Regions from separate parts of the Homo sapiens genome. Here regions 2 and 3 are each linked to region 1. The links are contacts of gene promoters, found by promoter capture Hi-C in human tissues and cell types (Jung and others, 2019). All regions are on one chromosome and are shown on one strand. The core of a region is centred on a gene start or on the middle of the fragment in contact, and the rest is flanking DNA. Distances in the headings are between cores, read along the strand shown.

Region 1 (2,971 bases), core at 18-2,517:
AACCCCATATTTACCCATTTATTCATTAAAATATTGCTGTATTATTTCACGAGTTGATTTGTAAAAGTCAAGGGAGTGTTGTAATTTGACATAACGCCCCTGTGAGAAACAGAGGGGGGTTTCAACATCCACATCACAAGGTTCCCCAGACTGCACACGGTCTCCATTGGGCAATGGCATCCAGATGTCATGTGGTAGCCAGCAAGAACTGTAGGACTGGGACTAGAGTGGTCAGTAGCTACGAAGAAGTGCCTGGGCCCAGTGTGACAGCTGCCAGCACCGTCCACACGCCAAAAAGAAACTTCACATCTCTTTAAACTTGGAACACATGCAAAATACTAACAGTTTTGTTTTAGCAATAAAGACTCCCTGTCACTTACTAACTTCCTTCCCTCACCTATTTATACAAGTATAAGTTGACTAGCTGCTATTTCTATAGCTGCCTCCTATGATATTTATAATGTGTTGTGTGTGATTTGGGTTGCCCATGTCACTAACACTTTGCAAGAATTTGTGTTTGTAAATTACTCTGGAACTCTTCTGGGAGTGAATATTCCACTGCACAAGGTGGAAGCCAGACTAGAGACCATCTGCTAAGAGCAGCACTTCATTCACCCAGCTACACCTTCCTGCCAAAGCACTCTTTGCAAATCTATTTTTGCTGGTAGAAGTTACTACATAGGGAGTGGAGGCTGTTTTAAGTTATCAGTGTGCACCTTCCATTTCCTCCTAGGACGGTCACACGCCAGCAGCTGAGTTTCTCAAAGAAGCCTCAGCCCTCCTCCAGACTCGTTCTCACTCTTGCTTCGGAAGGGAGCAACAATCCTTATCAGACTAGCCGCATCTACAAGCTAAAAGTTTGCATGAACTTTCAATGGGGTACCAACCCTCGCCCCAAAAGTCCTGCCACTTTACTATTTTACAAATGCCGCCTCCAAAACATAAACAACGAAACCCTAGAGAAGAGCGAATCCATCTTCTGCTGGTGGGAAGAAATTCTAAATCTTTCCCGTTTCCCGCCACCACCTACCGCCAAGACTGGAGTCCCAGAACACTCGCCCGGGTCAGAAAGGGACCACTCCCCCCCTAGAATACTAGAGGCGGGGGAAGGGGTCTCCCAGGAAGCACACACCTGAGATAGATCCTCACGCGCGAGGGGCCAGCGGGCAGGAGCACCCAGTTCCTCCAGCCAGGGTGGAGTCGGCCTCCCCCCAGAATCAGAGCCTCGGCCCGGGTGCTCCCAGCGAGGCGCGCGGGGCTGTCACTCGAGGCGGGCTGGGCGGGTGTAACTCGAGCGCCGGGCGGGCCGCGCCCCCGCCTTCCCTCTTCCCGACTTCCTCCTCCCGCTCCCGCGCCTGCTCCCTCCCGGAGGCCTGACCAGGGCGGCGAGGCCGCCACCTCCTGCCCGGATACCTCGGGCCCAGGCTCCTCCGGCCCAGCGGGGAAACGCGGAAGTGGGGGCGGGAACCGGGGCCGGGGTTGGCGGGGGTGTGGGAGGGAAAAGCCAACAGCGGGCGGCGAGCGAGGTGGTCTCCGTGGCCCAATGAACGTGACTAGACGGGGACGCGGGTCCTGCCGCCGGGTGGGGTCGCGCAGCGCCACACGCAAGGGCCCTCGCCCCTGGCTGCAGTTCCTGCTTTGTGCCTCGGCGATGCCGGACTCCAGACCTCCGCCCCGCCTTGCCAGCGGGCTGGCGGACTGGAAAGCCTGAGCTAGGCCAGGCTGGGGAAGACGGTGGCGGTGTCCGATTTCCTGTGCCCTCGCCCATGCGGGCCGCCCTGGCCATCTGCCTGCGGGAGAGGAGACACTCGTCCGCCGGCACGCTGGCGGGGCTGGCTTACCTGACGACTTCTCGTTGTCCGCCCTGGGATCTGGCTTCTCCTACTCTGTACCTCCCGGCCGGCAGGCTTCCCTAGGCCTACAGACGTGTCCAGGAGGCGGGCGACCCTGCGACCCCGCCGTCAGAGCCCAGAACCCTCGCCCGGCTCCCCCGGCGGGCTCTGGAGGCGCGCCAGGCCTCCTGGCTCCCCGCCTGAATGTCAGCGCAGGGACCCGCAGGGAAGACCAAGCCCAAGCTCCAGGGGGTGGAATGCTGAGCACAGGTTCCCCAGACCCAGCCTCATACAGGTGGGGGGAGGCGGAGAGCCCCGGCAGCTGAACAGCAGGCTTCCCACTTGCAACCCCCCGCCACCCAAAAAAAAAAAACGACCCTGCCCACTGAGCATGCCCAGCTTACTTGTTGGAACTCCTAGGGCTAGACAAGCCCAAGGGGACCTAAGGAAGGCAAAGTTGGGGCTCAAATGGACCCCACTTCTTTAACAGCTTTGCTCCGAAGACCTCTGGGTGCTGTACTAATAACCTTTCTATCGTGGTATTGGAAAATATCCAGGAGATGGACGGAAATGCCTTTCCAAAAGAAGGAAGAAAATTAGTGTGAACCAAAAAGCAGTGGTATTTTTTTAAATAAAGTATTAAGTCACTCATTTAATGTCCTTAAATACCGCAGAATTCCTGTAGTTGACCCAGAGGAATGCATATATTTATTAAATCCCAAACTCAGTAACTTCAGGGAACCATCCATAGTCCACAGAGGAGCAATGATTCTCACCCTTGGACACATTAAAATTGGGGGGAGGGGGCAGGGAGGGGTGGAATGCCAGATTTCCATCCCCAAGTCCAATGAGTCAGTCTGGACGTGGGATCTGCAAGTCCTTGTATTTTAAAACTGGCTCTAAAAGTGTAGTCACTGGAGCCCGCAGCATCAGCATCACCTGAGAACTTGACAGAAACTGTACTCCAGTGACCTGATTCATAGACTCTGGGGCTGGGGCTGAGCTACCCAGATTTAACAAGCCCTTTGGGTAGTTCTGATGCACATTAAAGTTTGAGAACCACGGTTTAAAAGCTCCCCCAGTTGAATCATGAGCAACCAGAAAAAGGAAATTGTAGTTGAGAAAAGAAAAATAGTTCA
Region 2 (2,982 bases), core at 435-2,934, 420 kb after region 1:
TTTGAGAGATGCTGCTTTGGTTTATTCTAGATTACTTCAGACTTTCATGTGTTCTAAAAATCTAAAGGATTTAAACCTCCAGCTGAAAGCTTCTCTTTGCCATAAAATGTTTGCCTCCAATCATTTAAGTAACTCGAGGAAGCTTCTTTTCACTGAAGTGAAGAGAGATAGCACTGTTTTTATGAAGCATGCAGTCACTGGGTTTGACATTACTTCATTTTGTTTTTCATACTGTGCATACAAAAATTTAGTTATAAGTCATCTCTTCCTTCTACTCAATCTCCTCTTTCTTCCAGTCAGACCTGAGTATTTTTCACTTAAGATATTTAATTTGAATACTTAACTAAGTTAACATACTTCTTTCTCCTTAGGGAAAACAAAAAGTGGGGAATAAGGTCAAGAGAGCTGTTCAACATTGTGACCATGGTCACGTGGACTCCAAATGTGCTAATTTCTGGTTGAAGTTCTTTTTAAATATAAGCCATCTTTCAGATTACCAGCCATATGAGAACAATTTTGTACCATGAAAATACTAAAAAATGATGTAATTTTTTTTGGGCCGCTAGCTTTTGGGTGATTCTATATCTATAGGGCAAGATGAAAAATAGTGGTAAAGAATATTGATATTTTTAATCTGTATAAATGAGCTAGCTACACCCTTGATTTGGCAGTACATTTTTTTTTTCTCTGAGAGTTGGGTAATTGTCACTTTTGCAGCCATTTAAAAAGCCATCAGTGACAGTAGGCTAAGAAACAGGAAGAATGGAGGTTATTGTTCATCATTAGAGCTGGGCTTTTGTGTGGCCTTGAGGAATCACAGGTCGTTGAGGTTTCATTTTGGACAGGTTCCAGATAATGCAAAAGTGAGCTGCTTTATTTCAGAAATCCAATTCAAAGTTCACAAAACTATAATAGTACATACAGGTTGCATTCCATGTCGTCTCTCACTCTTTCTAGTTACATTTGTTTTGTACCAGATTACCATTTCCCAGAAGGTGTCAATCTTACTTTATATCATAGTCTTTGAATAATTAAGAGAGTTCAGTCTTAATGTGTAACATTCAAGTGAATGAAGAATTCAAAGAATGCTGAAAAACAGTTATCAAATTAATACTCTGAAAGTTTACATATGCAAAGGATGCAAAATATAACATTGAGAGACATAGATTCATTTTTGTGATACTGGTTTTTTGAAAAGTTCTGAATTTCTCTTTTTCTATCTGCTTTGTCACAAAAATAGCTATAGGGGTAAGGCAACTGACATAAAACACACTCAATATTACGGGATGTAAAAGAAGGAAGATATTATAAAGATATTATAGTGTGTATACAGAGGAAAAATGCCATGGAGGAAGTGGAATTTCAAATGGATCTTAAAGTGGAGATTGTGATTTCTTTAGGTGGAGTGGATCTCAGTAATGCTTTCAGTAAACTAAGCTGACCACAGTGTGTAGGATGGATAAATACTAGTGGGGAAGGGCAAGACATGACCGGTGATCCTGGCAATCAAGGTAGGGAGTAAAAAAGGTTCAAACCGGGTGGTGGCAATAAGAATGGGAAGAGGAACGTGCAATGCAAAAAGCATTGAGATTTGGGAACTGGTTATAAAATTGAGGGTAAAAAAGGATAAAAAATATGAATCTGACTTTTCGAATTAAGAAACTGGAAAACAGTCTAGATATAAAATAACACACAAATGTTGAGTGTGTTATTGCAACTAGGGAATTGTAATCAGGAACGAAGAGACAGATCTAGGAGTAAATTTCCTTAAGTGTGATAATTGAGCCAACAGGGATGATTGTGTTTTTTGAATAGAAGAGTGCAGAAAGAGAAGAGAAGAGTTTTAAGGACAAAACTTTAGGAGATGGCTACATTTCCAAGAAGGCAGGATAAACAGAGGTCATCCCCAGGTAACTTTACTTAGGTCAGAGAATCAAAGAGAAGGAATTTTCAAGAAAGTTTAAAGTAGTCCAATGTTAGGAGATGATAAAGAGGATAAAGACAGAGGAAGAAAACTAAGGTTGAGTTTTCTTCTTTAACTCCATTTATTCATATATAGGTTGACTTTCTTTATAACATAATAAGCTTTTAGAAAGATTGACATTGTTTGCCAATTTTAAATTATTTCCTTTATGATTTCTATATGGCAGAAAAGATGGCTGTTAAGAACCGATGACCTAAAACACTTTCCTTCCTGTAGTTTCCTATCTTCTTCCTTAATCAATTCTCTCTCTCTCTGTCTCTCTCCCCCTCTCAAACTTAGACTGCAAGTTGAGTGAAGGTGCAGCAAACAATAAATACATTTTCGGTTAGAAGATAAACAACCTAGTCAGTATTAGAATTCTCTGAGGCCATGTCTTTCTCCTCTCAGAAAACATTCACTTCGTGTTTATTAAAAAATAAAATGGCATTATTGGAAGGAAAAAAAAAAATATGTGTGCCCTCAAGAGTGAACCCTCTGCCTAGTAGGAGAAAACAGTAAAAAGGTGGTCCTATCATTTTTCATTTTTGCTGCAGAAAACACAAATGCCTTTTGATGCCAAAATAAAAGAGGGCTGGAATTTGAATAGAATACATTTCTCCAGCCTAGAGATATTCCACCATACAAGGATGCCAATACTAAGACACGTTGTCTTTTATAAAACTTCAGGATCTTAACATTCTTATTAAGAGGGTGAGAGAGGAAAAAGAAAACACTCTTAGGGAAAAAGTTAGGTAGACAAATTGTGCCAGGAACTCTGATAGAATCCTATCTTGTTTCTCTTCACTGTCTTAAACAACAACAAACTTAGAAATTCTGGATTCACTGACAAGAGGAAAGTAAGGTTATTAGTTATGAGCATCTTTATTTCCTAAATATGTATCACAGAAAAACTAATACCTCCTAAAGGTCAACAAGTCATTCTCAGGAAGAAGACAATATTTTGAAGAGTTTTTATGTTATATTAACCTTTAGCCTTTGAGATGAAATTGAGAATAAAT
Region 3 (3,006 bases), core at 9-2,508, 460 kb before region 1:
TGAAGAAGAATGTAAGATAAAACACACAAAAATAAAACTCTCAGAAATTGAATTTGTATGATGGAACTATGGGTGAATTTTTTCTTCCTTTTAATTTTCCATATTTCCTAAATTTATAAAGAAACATTACTTTAGCATTTAAAAAAATGCGAAGAAAAAAACAACTAAACATGGTTTTTTTTAGCTGCTCTTTAGTATTTTTTTAACTCAGTTTCTCTGTGTTGCAATCTGGACTAAATCCTTGGTGCTATCTCTTGAATCATGAATTCTCTCTTCATCTCTGTCTAAATGTTACTTTTTTCTCTTGAGATTTGTAAATTCTCCTTAAAAAGAAAACTTCAGCATTTCTAATTTATTCTTTCATGTCTACCTAATATTGTTTTTGAATTTTTTAAAAGAATTGTTTTAATTTATGATTGCTTTTTGTTTCACAGTTTCTTAGGGGTTATTTTAGTAGATACAATTCAGTATTTTATCTTTTTGAGATTCTCAATGTGTTTGTGAAGTCTTTTTTTGGTAACGTTATAATTTTCATTTTTATCTACATTGAATTCATCTCCCAGCAATTGATTTTTATTTTGTCAGCTGTCTTTTGAGCATTCATTTTTAATAATCATTTTCAGACATTTCTTGGTTGGGAGTTTACTACAATCTCTCTGTCTCTGCCTTTCCTTGTCTTTCTCTCCCCACCATTTTTCGTGTGTGAAGTTTTAAGTTGACTACACATCACTTTCTGCCTGGGGCCTTCAGGCCAGATAATGAGCTGTCCTGGAAGAATGTTACCCCTGGGCTGCAGGGTAATTGTGAATATTTTCAATTCCAGATACTCGAGTATCTGGGTAGCTTGGCCCAGACTTTGGATGCGACGTAGAGTCCTTCCTTTTCTTAGAAATGCAGCTCAATTCATATAGGCATTGGTCCCAGTCAGTGACCTGTTACAGCTTTATACAGCTTCCTTTCTGGGTTGAAGATGCCTTATTTTACTCCCCAATTTCAAGCATGTCCTTTTCTCTAGTCCTTTTACCCTTGAACATTCCTCAACTGACAGATGTGGTACTCAGACAGCCACAGCCTTTGCCCCACTTGCTGTTTTTTATTTCTCTTCTGGTTCAGTTTCACAATGAGGCTTTCTTTGCTTTTGAGTATGGTTATATCCTTCTAATTTAATCTTTTTCTGTACATAATTAATCAGAGAAGACTTCCAGAGAAAGAATCAGTTGTATGGAGAGAGAAACAGCATGTTGTTGAGTTAGTAGAAAATGAGTTAAGTTAATAAATTTAGAAAAGACAGTACATATTAATAGGACCTAATGGATAGCCAGAGAACAGAAGGCAGCAGAACTAAGAGGATACTTTCCCTTCCTCTGACATAAAAAGTGAGGAGAACTAAGATCTCAGTAGGAGCTGATCAAGTTGAGATAAGGATTCAGAATTTCCCATTCAGTATTCATAGATGTCTTGACAAAATGATTCTCATTTTTAAAATAATTATAGCGAGGAAATTGCATGAAAATAAAAGTATATAGCAATTTAGGTGGAGAAACTTATTATCTAGCAAGAGCATGAGAGGAACAAGGGGGAGAATGTGGCTTATTAATAAGATCTTATACTAATCCTGCATGTTTTAAGGGTACATGTATTGCCTCTTGTGTCTCTCAGTAACTTACCTGAGTCATGTAGACCACTGGTCTTCAACTCTGACTTCACAATAAAATCACCTAGTGACATTTCAAAAAATATTGGTGCCCAGAATCTCATTCCCAAAGATTCTGATTTAATTGTTTTACTGTAGGGCCTGGCTCATGTTATTTTTTAAAGTACCTCGGATGCTTCTAATGTGCAACTAGGGCTGAAATACTACACAGAAATACTGAATGAATAAACATCATGTAGTTGCAAATCTATATATTTTTTCTTTTCTCTAGTATATTTTCGCCACAAGGCCTGAAAGTGACCTTGGACAGAGAAATGGCAGAAATCCATTCTCTTGATGAGCTGTGTAAATTGGCTTGTGAATTAGTTCCCTATTGCTGCTGTAACAAAGTATCACAAGCTTAGCATTTTGAAACAACAGACATCTTTTTTGGGGAGGTACATTATCCTGCCTGCCACAGTTTGGTATAGAAGTGATTGTAGCAACTTCATGATTAGATCACTCTTACCATTGTGAAGTTCATGGAGATCAGACTTGTTCAGAGGGGCTTGAGGGAAAAGATCATGGAACCAATATTGTCAAGAATTGCTATATTGCTTGAATACAAGAGAGTATTTTGAAACATGACCTTATATTGCCTTGGTTTGAAATCTGAGATGGTCATTTTCAATAATATCACTTTGTTCCTGACTTTGTTAAATATGTTAGCTCTTCTACCTCTTCCTCTACCTTCTGCCACCTTTCATATATCCTACCTTCTGTCTGTTACATTTGAATTTTTACCTCATTATTTTTGTTAACATATACATTTTTTCTACAAGTAAAAGCAGTCTTCCTAACTCTGGCCGTGAATTTATAAGTTGAAAAACAATATAAAGAATTACATTATTATGGCTATGTAAAAATTTTTCACTGCTGAGCCAATTAGTGGGCTGGGAATATAATTTTTTTTCTCTCTTGGCCCAATGTCATGACTCTGGATGACTCAATAAAAAATGTTCCTAGATTGGGCACAGTGGCTCATGCCTGTAATCCCAGCACTTTGGGAGGCCAAGGAGCAGAAATCACTTGAGGCCAGGAATTCAACACTAGCCTGGGCAACACAGCAAGACCTTGTCTCTAAAACAATTATTTTTAAAAATTATCTGGGCATGGTGGCGCGGGCCTGTAGTTTCAGTTACTCAGGAGGCTGAGCCAGGAAGATCCCTTGAGCCCAGGAATTTAAGGTTGTAGTCAGCCTGGGCGACAGATTGAGACTCTGTCTCAAAAAAAAAAAAAAAAAAAAAAAAATCCTAAATTCAACAGTAAGAACACCACCAATGGATTCTCTTTTCTTATGCTATTAATACAAT

The links. Contacts are between HindIII fragments. The study calls those that stand out against the background at their distance.
Region 2: a contact is called between a fragment that was not itself captured here and the fragment with the promoter of GPD2 in region 1, in 1 of the 25 tissues and cell types used here (mesendoderm cells).
Region 3: a contact is called between a fragment that was not itself captured here and the fragment with the promoter of GPD2 in region 1, in 1 of the 25 tissues and cell types used here (lymphoblastoid cells).

The regions. Positions count from the first base shown.
Region 1 is chr2:156,434,675-156,437,645 of GRCh38, reverse strand. It overlaps GPD2 (glycerol-3-phosphate dehydrogenase 2), which reads right to left and starts at 1,267. Exons shown (of 17, transcript NM_000408.5): 1 at 1,133-1,267. RefSeq lists silencers at 1,146-1,555, 1,996-2,165 and an enhancer at 1,706-1,755. The HindIII fragment of the contact is 7,799 bases long and covers 1-2,971 here.
Region 2 is chr2:156,012,202-156,015,183 of GRCh38, reverse strand. No RefSeq gene overlaps it. Among named protein-coding and RNA genes, the nearest start is that of LINC01876, 240 kb to the left of the region's middle. The HindIII fragment of the contact is 3,136 bases long and covers 117-2,982 here.
Region 3 is chr2:156,899,625-156,902,630 of GRCh38, reverse strand. No RefSeq gene overlaps it. Among named protein-coding and RNA genes, the nearest start is that of LINC01958, 230 kb to the right of the region's middle. The HindIII fragment of the contact is 4,197 bases long and covers 1-3,006 here.